Regions from separate parts of the Homo sapiens genome. Here region 1 is linked to region 2. Evidence: promoter capture Hi-C in human tissues and cell types (Jung and others, 2019). All regions are on one chromosome and are shown on one strand. Each heading gives the region's core, a stretch centred on a gene start or on the middle of the fragment in contact. The rest is flanking DNA. Distances are from core to core; before and after follow the strand shown. Region 1 overlaps HMCN2 (hemicentin 2). Region 2 holds the start of ASS1 (argininosuccinate synthase 1).

Evidence for each region. The method cuts DNA at HindIII sites, captures the fragments that hold promoters and counts their contacts. A contact is called where the count stands out against the background at its distance.
Region 1: a fragment that was not itself captured here is called in contact with the fragment with the promoter of ASS1 in region 2 in 1 of the 25 tissues and cell types used here (bladder).

The regions. Positions count from the first base shown.
Region 1 is chr9:130,379,142-130,384,271 of GRCh38, reverse strand. HMCN2 (hemicentin 2) reads right to left here. Exons shown (of 98, transcript NM_001291815.2): 54 at 4,805-5,023; 55 at 1,975-2,088; 56 at 1,406-1,593; 57 at 672-768. Among named protein-coding and RNA genes, the nearest start is that of ASS1, 63 kb to the left of the region's middle. RefSeq lists an enhancer at 1,739-2,654. The HindIII fragment of the contact is 4,474 bases long and covers 1-3,557 here.
Region 2 is chr9:130,443,078-130,447,604 of GRCh38, reverse strand. It overlaps ASS1 (argininosuccinate synthase 1), which reads right to left and starts at 2,644. Exons shown (of 15, transcript NM_054012.4): 1 at 2,610-2,644. RefSeq lists enhancers at 1-504, 1,174-1,841 and a silencer at 2,722-2,841. The HindIII fragment of the contact is 13,908 bases long and covers 1-4,527 here.

The DNA of each region.
Region 1 (5,130 bases), core at 71-2,570, 62 kb after region 2:
TTCACCTCGGCACAACTTCAAATAATTCAGAAACCTCCATTTGCCATGACTCTCTTACACAGAAGGACACTGGGTAGGGGATCAGAGAGGGAGAGTCACTGTTCCAAGGCCACACAGCTGGTCAGTGGCAGAGCTAAGATATCAATTCAGGTTTGAGCCCATGACCTTGAGGGCTCAACACTATCTTCCTCCATCTCCAAGACCATCTGGAGACAGAACTCACAGCCACTGCAGTGCGGTGTACGTCATGAGTTGCAGAGGTTAGGAGTGCAGGCTCCGGGACAGTGAGACCCCCCCAATCCCACTCCTCTCTGAGGGCGACCTCCCTGAGTCTCCTCCCACAGCTGCAAAGCTGGGTGGGCTAACCTAGCTCTGCTGGAAGGAGTCAGCCCAGGGAAAGTGCTCAGCCTCGTGTCAGGTACACAGTAAGTGCTCAGTAATGGTGGTGGTAATGCCTGGCCATCTCCAAAGTTGCTTAAAACCACCTGGGGTTGGCCCAGTAGTGATCAGGGCCCCCCAAATGCTCTCTGTCTCGGGATGTGGCTGGGGCCAGCTGGGATCCCTGAACTCTGATTGCAGGACCCAGAGCCCAGGATACTGGAAGCCCCAAGGCAGTGCCCCCTGGGAAGGGAAAAGGAACCCACAGGGGCTGCCTGCTCAGCCCAGCTCACCTTGAACCCTGAGGGTGAAGAGCTTCTCAGCGGAGCCCGCCTGGTTCTCGGCCACACACATGTAGCTGGCGGCGTCGGCCACCTCTGCCGTGGAAACCTGTGGGTGCAGGGAGCCATGCCTGGGAGATACCTGAGACCCCTTGGACACCACCACCCCCAGGAATGACTGCGAGGAATCCCTCCCATCCCATGCCAGGGAAGCAGGCACCAGGCAGCTCATGGAGACCTGGAACCTCCTCCATCCAGGGCCTTGTGTGGCGCTCAGGAGCGGGCGTGTGAGGTTGGTGTTGGGTGGTTCTCTGTAGCAAACCAGATGTGACAAGAGCCTCCCCCACCCCTGTGGAGGGCCGTGCTGTGTGTGTTGGGCTCCCAGGGTCCCCGCAGCTCTGTGTCTGCACATGGGGTGACTCAGGGGGCTGCCTGATGTCTGAGTGCTGGGCACGGCTCTGCACGCGCCAGCTGGTGATCCCGCGGAAGGCTGCTGTGTGCGGTGCTGGGCTCTGGGTCCCGCACCCATGTGCATCCTTTGCTAGGTGTCTCCTGAAGCTCTGGATGCCGTGCACAGGCCTGTGCTGGCCCAGCATGCCTCCTCACAGGTGATTCTTGGCTGGGCTCCAGCATGGTTCCCAGCAAAGAGCCTCATTTGCAGATAATGACCCCTCCCTGGCTCCCAGACAAGTGGTGCTGGGCCTCAGCAGCCACTGCCCCTAGCCCGTGCAGGGGGCTGCCCTGACCTGCAAGACTTGCCCGTCCTCCAGGACCTGCAGCCGTGGGCTCGGGGAGAAAGGCAGCCCATTCTGGAGCCATGAGATGGTGGGCACGGGGTTTCCCAGGGCCGGGCACTGCAGGCTGACGGTGCTGCTGGCATTGACTGTCACCTCTTCCACCAGCTCCTCTGTGTCACCCAGGATCACAGGTGGGGCTGGGGGTGGGGGAGAGGGGGCTGAGGGGCTGGCACAGGTCCCTGGGGGCGGGGGTGGCCGTGGAGGCGAGAGTGGCACTTGGTGTCAGGTGCTGGTCGGGATCCTCATGCCCTTCTCTCCAAGCCCTCCCAATCCCTGATGCAGCTAAGGAATCGGGGGCACAGAAAGGGTTGTGATTTGCTCAATGTCACACAGCTAGGAAGCTTCTGACTTGGAACCTGCGCCCAGTCCTGCATGATTCTTTGAGGCCGAGCATGTAACTCCAATTTCAACCTCTGAGTACAGCAAGACTGTGTGCACTTTGCCTCGGCCCCTTCTGAGGGAGGCCCTTACGGCGCTTGCAGTCCCGGGAATCCCCACCTGCAGGCCCCGCCACTCACTCAGCACCAGCAGCTCGTAGTGCAGCCAGTCCTCGCCCACCTCGTTGGAGGCCTTGCACGAGTACCTCCCGGCGTTCTCTGCCCGCACCAGGGGGATCTGCAGGACCCGGCCTCCTGCAGGGACACGGGACAGAGGCCTGGGCTCAGGCACGAGAGTCACCCCCAAGAGCAAAGACGCTGCCCCCTCCTCTGGAGTGGACCTGGGACATGTGACTGTCCCTGCCTCATCTGTGAAATGAGGAGAATCGGCCTGTCCTGCCCAGCTCACGGGTGGAGTGGAGTCAAGTCAGGGTACAGCCACCACTCGCTGCGTGCCAGGCCCTGGGCTGCACATTCTCGGCCTGTCCCACAGTGCCTCTGTGGGGCACACGCTGTTGTCACTCCCATCTTACAGATGGCAAACCTGAGCCTTCATGGCAGTGCTGGGGGTGACAGCAGTGGTTGCTGGCTCAGCTCTGCTGTTGTGCTGAGCCCAGCTCCTTGGTAAGGGCAGAGTCCAAGCAGAGACTCAGGAGGCAAGGGAGGCAACTCCTGGGGCTGTGGTGGTTGGCGGGGGTAGAAGTAGGGGTAGGGGCTGGGGAGGCATCGCCTGGGACCCTCTGTGATCAAAAGCCAGCCAGGGGCCAGGCACAGTGGCTCTCGCCTACAATCCTACAATCCCAGCACTTTGGGAGGCCAAGGCAGGTGGATCACCTGAGGTCAGTAGTTCAAGACCAACCTGGCCAACACGGCGAAACCCCATCTCTACTAAAAATACAAAAATTCCCCGGGTGTGGTGGTGCACACCTGCAATCCTAGCTACTCAGAAGGCTGAGGTAGGAGAATCACTTAAACCCAGGAGGCAGAGGTTGCAGTGAGCCAAGACTGCCACTGCACTGTAGCCTGGGCAACAGAGTGAGACTCTATCTCAGAAAAAAAAAAAGAGCCATCCAAGGCCAGAGCCTGGCATCTATGGGGGCTGGCGTTGGTCTCCAGTGGGGGCCTGGTTAGGGTTACTGTGTGCTCAGAATTCTAGGCTGGGGCTGGCCGGCCCGGGCTGTGGGTAGCTTGACCAGGTTAAGAGCCTGCAGAGCCCAGTGGCCAGGATTGAGGCAGCAGTGGCATTGTAGGGGTCAGTTGATGTTTGAGGTCAGTGTAAGGTCAGGGTAAGAATTCAGGTCAGCCGTGACCATGACGCCTATTTTCTCAGGATTAGAGAACAGAGGTTAGAGGTCAGTTGTCAGGGTGAGAGGTGAGTGGTAGGGTTGGAGGTAAGTGGGCAGGACTGGGGGGCAGTTGGTGGCTGTGGTCTGGGTTCAGCTATTGGTTGGGATTAGCTGATGGTTAGAGTCTGATCGGGATCAGCAGGTCAGAGCCTACTGTGCACCCAGGACTTGGGGTCAGGATCAGTGGTCAGTGGCCAGGTTAAGGGGTCTGTCCAGAGGTTTCTAATAGGAACTAACAGTGTTCAGTAAGAGTTGCACTCCTGGATCTGCAAGAGGCCTCCTTCTTTTTTTTTTTTTTTTCTTTTTTTGAGATAGTCTTGATCTGTCACTCAGGCTGGAGTGCAGTGGTGTGATCACGGCTCACTGAAGCCTTGACCTCCTGGGCTTAAGGGATTCTCCTTCTTCAGCCTCTTGAGTAGCTGGGACCACAGGTACATGCCACCACGCCCAGCTAGTTTTAAAATATTTTGTACAGACGGGGTCTCACGATGTTGCCCAGGCTGGTCTTGAATACCTGGGCTCAAGCGATCCTCCCACCTCAGCCTCCCAAAGTGCTGGGATTACAGGTGTGAGCCACGGCGCCCAGCCACCTCCTTTTCTTGCAAGCACCAAAGTAGAAATCCTGGTCTGATTCTGCTCATTGGAGACCTGTGCAACTGACCACTTCTCCCCAAAACCAGCCCCATTGCCGGCCCATCTCTGGCAGGACACAGTTCGAATCTCAAACAGAGAGACCACCCACGCTTCCCTCATGAGCCAGGTGGGCCGGGCATTTCTAAGCCCCACCCCTGGAGCCTTTTAAGTCAAAATCACCTACAAAAAATTATTCTAAAATAAAAGGTTTACTTAAAAAAATTAAATTACCTTAAATAAACAAATACCTCTTAAGGTGGTGAAAGAAAAAACAAAACCTGGCTGAGCGTGGTGGCTCACGCCTATAATCCCAGCATGTTGGGAGGCCGATCCGAGACGGTGGATCACCTGAGGTCGGGAGTTTGAGACCAGGCTGGCCAACATGGAAAAACCCCATCTGTACTAAAAATACAAAAAGTAGCCAGGCGTGGTGGCGCATGCCTGTAATCCCAGCTACTTGGGAGGCTGAGGCAGGAGAATCACTTGAACCCAGGAGGTGGAGGTTGCAGTGAGCCAAGGTTGCACCATTGCACTCCAGCCTGGGCAACAAGAGCGAAACTCTGTCCCAAAAAATAAAAATAGAAAAAAATAGAAAAAAAACCCAGACACAAAAGACATGAGTTCAGCCACCACAGTGTGCCCTTCAATGCCCAGCTAGAGCTTCGTCAGCGTTTGGGGTCATGAGCTTTGTTGACGATTAACAAAGAAGCCAGCTGCCTCTGCAGAGAAAGTGGCAGCTTCTGCCGATCATTTAAGGACATTACAGATCTTGAAGCCCAGAAGGGCATGCCCCATGATAGGAGGCTCTGCTCTATAAACCAGAGGCAAAAGGCAATCCAGTCTTTGCCTTCACACAGGCAAAGAACTTGTAGCCCCAGTTTACAAATTGCAGCTAAGGTCCAGAGTGGTTGTGTGCTCTGCTTAAGGTCACACAGCAGGCAGCACACAGGAGAGCTCAAAGCGCCCACTTTCTTCACGCACCCCTGACCCACCTTGCAGCACAGACACCTCATCCCCGGCCGAGAGGGGCTGATCCTCTCTGTACCAGGTGAGGTCCGGGGGTGGGATCGCGTTGGTGTCGCAGTACAGGTAGGCTGGGTTGTTCTCCACGATCTCCCTGTATTCCGTGACTCCGCCCCGGGCCTCCTCCTCCCGGGACAGGATCTCGAAGGCTGCACTGAAATCACCCACCTTCTGGAACATGGGGGGCACTGGGTGGGGGAGACAAAGCCCTTAGGAAGCACAGCAGAGGGGTGGGGAATGCACCTCTGCTCACGGAGATTCTCGTCCCAGCCTCTCCCAAGCGGAAATCCATTAC
Region 2 (4,527 bases), core at 1,395-3,894:
CAGCCCTCCTTCCCCGGAAGAGACACCTGGGAGGAGGGAAGGTGGCCTCGCGTCAAGGTACCAGAGCCACCTGGCTTTCATTGGGATGGCATTCTCTGTGGCCCCAGCCACAGCCATCTGTCCAGCTTCCAGCAAACAGGCCAGCCTGGGCGCTCACTTGACACTAAGGAAAACTCGTGCTACTTGAAAACGTCAGAGCTGGAATGACAACAAGAGCGGCTACTATGTTCACAGTCACAGGTGCATCCTCTCAAGGTGGAGACTGCCATTACCACCTATTTACAAAGGAGGAGGCAGAGGCTAAGCGGCCAGCCGAGGTCACAAGCTAGCGGCTTCAAACCCAGCCTGACTGCAGGCCACTTGCTCTTCCCTGCACTAGGCCTTCCACTCCCTGGCTCCTAGGAGACCTCAGATCTCCCCTTCACTCTACACACCTTCCAGAAAACCAGCCCCCCAGTGAGTCATGGCCAACCTGCCCACTATTTCTCTGGAGAGCCTGTGTGCTATAGCTCAGGCCTACTGCCCCGTGGAAGATTCCCCTGCAACCCCTCGCTGACATTCTAACTCAGCTGAGCTCGGTTTGTCTTTGGTGATGGACGAAGGGCACATTCATTCATTCGTTCCACTCATATCAAAGTGCCTATGGGTGCCTGGTCGACCCCAAGTCTGGGGAGGGAGCCACGCCCTGGAAGATCAACTTTGCCCAAAGCTACATCAGAAATCAGAGCCTTAGACTCTGAATTCCAGCGAAGTTACCTCTTTCCACATGGGTGCCTGGTGCCCACAGGCAAGCCACTGACTTCAGGGACTGTGTAGTCAGTGCTCAGATGAGGCATCTGGTTGACCTGGCTGGCCTCCCAGCAGGCCAAAGATGAGATGGGCCCGGGTTGGGAGGGGGAAGCGCTTGTGCAGCAGGCTGTTTTGGGCCTGGCTCCACCCCAAGGCTCCTGCGGCCCTGGGCCTGCTTCCCAAGCACTCAGGAATGGAGACTGTGCTGAGAGTGGGGCCTCCCCTTCCCTCTCACGACGTGTCTGCCCCCGCACCGGCCAGGCGCTCAGCAGGCAGGAGTCACTATTCATTCACTTGATCCACCCCCACAGAGCAGAACCAGAATTACTTCTCAGCATGGTGCACAGATGGCCCCGCCAGGACAGGGTCCCGCCCCCACCCCCAAACTTCCCCGCCCTAGGCCTTGGGCCTAAGGGGTCTGGGAGGGAGAGGGAGTTTGGAATGGAGACTCCTCCAGTTCCTGCTCCTAGCCAAGCTTCCCAGTCCGTGTGGCTGCTTCTCCCTCCCTCTCATCAGAACCTAACCCCAGGCACAGTTATTGTGCAATTGGACCCAGGCCCAGCACCCAACAGTCTACAGAGCCCTTAGCAGCCGCACAGTATCTGCAAATGTTTCCTGAGCCCTCAGCCCCAGCCAGCTCTAACAGACTGAAGCTTGGGGGCCAGGCACTTTGGGTGGCTCGAGCCTGTAATCCTAGCAGTTTAGGAGGCCCGAGGGAGGAGGGTCGCTTGAGCCCAGGAGCTCGAGGCCAGCCTGGGCAACATGACGAGTCCACATCTCTGATAAATTTTTAGAAAGAAAAGAAAATGAAAAGGAAGCTTGGGAATCTGGAGGCTGAGCCAAGGCCTCACCAGCTCTCCCCATCACTGGGTTTGTGCTTGCTGGGAGCGGGAGGATCAAAGCCCAAGTCCCCTAGGTCTTGATCTACCCCTGGGGAGAGAACAGGTCTGTTCCTGCCCTGAGACCTGCAGCCTGACTCGGCTGCTCGGGAGTGGACTCTCCACTTCTCAGAGAAGAATACTGAGGCCAGGCCAGCCCTCCTCAGGAACAGCCCTGGCCGCCTGGGAGAGGAGTTTCCTCTCTTTCACAATGACCCTGCCTCCCTGGAGGGCGCAGCCGCCCAGGGGCCAAAGGCAACAGCAGCCCGAATAGAAAATATTCCTGGCACTGCCCCTCCCACAGAGCCCAGCCCAGGCCAGCAGGAAACCCCGCCGCGAGGCCGCCAGCCCCACCGGGGAGGGCCAGGTGGCTGCCGCCCCCTGCAGGGAAGGGAGCCAGGGCCACCATGCCCATCTGTCCAGGGTAAACTGAGGCTGCGGGGAAAGCGATACGTCCAAGCCCCAGAGGGGCTGGACTCCTGGTTTTACGCAGAGAAATAGAGGTGGAGACAGACGGCGAGTCCGAGAGAGGGAGAGAGAATCGGGAGCCCCCCCACACGCTCCGGACTCCCCAGGTCTCCATGTGGGGGCTTCACGACACAGAGGAAGCCGGATCCGACAAGGAGTCCAGAAAGGACCCGGCTGCGCAGGGAACAAATAACCCGAGCCGCTCTTCGGACCCGGGGACTCGCGCCCCCGGGGACTCGCGCCCCCGCCGCGTCCCCCACGCTCCAGAAACCTGGAATCCGGTGCCAGGCGTTTGAGCATCGGGAGCCCCTTCCCTCCTGCCTCGGTCCCAGTCCCCGGCGAGTGGCGATCGGGGTCCGCCCTCTGCCTCCGCGGGCCCCGGGGCGGGCGTCTTCTACGCCTCCTCCTCTGGGCCCGGGAAGCGGGTGCTCTCGGCTAGGGAGTGGGCAGCGAGAGGGGCCGAGGGCTCCTTACCGGGCTCGGGCAGCGGTGGCAGGCGGCAGAGCAGGACTGGCAGGGGTGCCCATCCCAGGTTATAAGCACAGGGCCCGGGGGCAGGGCCGGTGACCGGGGACACGTGGCGGGGACGCGCGCCACAGACCCCGCCCCCGGGCCCGGCCCCCGCCTGGAGCCGCTCAGCGTTCACAGCCACCTGCAGATGGGCGGGGCCCGCCTCCCCAGGCCTCGTCCCCACCTCCCCCCGCCTCCCACCAGGTCCGGGCCTGGGCCCGGCGCCGGCTCACCCTCCCAGGGGCGCGCCGGCGGGGGCGCAGGCGGCTCGCGGTTCCTGGCCCTGGCCCGCGGGCTGGAGGCGCCAAGGAGGGCGGCAGTGGCTGCGACCCATGTAACTCAGGGGCGGAGGGTGGCCGCAGCCGTCCTTCGAGAGACTTGCCTCCTGGCCCTGGGGAAGCAATTTAAACGCTTCGCGGTGGGAGCCGGGATAAAAGTTCCACTGGCGCAGGGAGCTTCGTGCTCACTTCTATCCGGTGCCGGCAGCCTGGGCCTTCTGCAGCCCCCAGAGCCCCCTCCCTCCCCAACCATAGCCTCTGGTAGCCGAGTAAGGATGAGAAAACCGAGGTGAGCCGGCGCGGGAAGGCCCGGCTTTCATCCCTTAGGCCAGGGCTGATTGCTGGCCTGTCTTCTCAGAGCCTGGCACCTGCCCAGACTCCAGAGGGCACCCAGTAAGCAGTGAGTAAAAGACTGTCTGGCTGCGAACCCACTAGACAGGAGGGAAGGTTGAGGTTCAGAGAGAAGTCTCTTGCTTGTAAAAAGCAGCTGGGAGTTGTGACCCCAGGCCCGCCTTCAACAGCTTCTCTACCTCAGGAGTTTCCCAGCTTGGTCTGCCGGCTCCAAAGCCCTGATCACTGCAACCACAGCCCCAGTAAAAGAGCAAGTCCTGGGACCCCATCCAAGGCAGTTGCTCCATAGTGAGCACTGACCCCAGAAGGGAGGACTCCCGGTCCTCAGCCGGCTCTGAACCTGGGGGAGGTGGGAGCCCCAAGCCTTGCCCAGCCGCTACCCTGGAGTCAGTGCTCCTTTTAATCACCATCCACTCTCAGCCCCTCTGCCAGTCAGCCCCCACCACCCCCTCAAGCCCATGGCAAGCAACAGTAGCTGTGAGTCCTTCTAGAAGGAAAAAAGGATCAAACCAATTCACAAACAAAGCCACAGCTCGATTCTCTCTTAAGCCCCTTAGTTCTCTGACACTTAAACCTGGGATGTGGCCCTTGATGGCAAAGGGGCCCCTGGTGAGCCACGTGGGGCTGGGTGTACATGGGTGGCTTGAGGCCCCTTCTAGATGGGAGGCGGTATCACAGCTGGCCCCCCTCAGCCCTCTCACAGGAGCAGCTGGGGGTCTCGTGGAGTCTCTGGGCCTCCCACACTAGCAGGAGGCAAGTGAGGAACACCTACACAATGACACCCTTGCAGCAGTTGTGTGTCCTTGGGGCGGTCACTCCCCACTGCAGCCTGTTTTCTCATTGGTAGGGTCGCCCTGGAAAGAGCAAGCATTCTGTTTTCACCTTCACGACTACCCTGTATGAAGTACCTGTGATTGTTATCTCAATGGTATGGGCAGAAACCTGCTGCACAGAATGACGGTGTATCTTTCCCAAGGCCACACAGCATGTGAGTGGCAGAGCGGAGCTAGAATCCAGTGTCTGAAGCTCTGGCTCAAACCCTCTGCTTTAGCTCCAGCCTGAGCTGAACTGAGGTCACAGTCCCAGGGTCACAGGCTGCTGGGACCTTTACTCCTTGCCGCAGAAATGGTTCCAGCCTAGGGGACAGACCCTTCCTAACTCACATGCACCAGTGACATGAGGGACAGTGAGGTCACAGCGCTCCTGAGAAGAAAACAGGGGCCCAAACTGCCAGCAGCACCCCGCCCCCCACC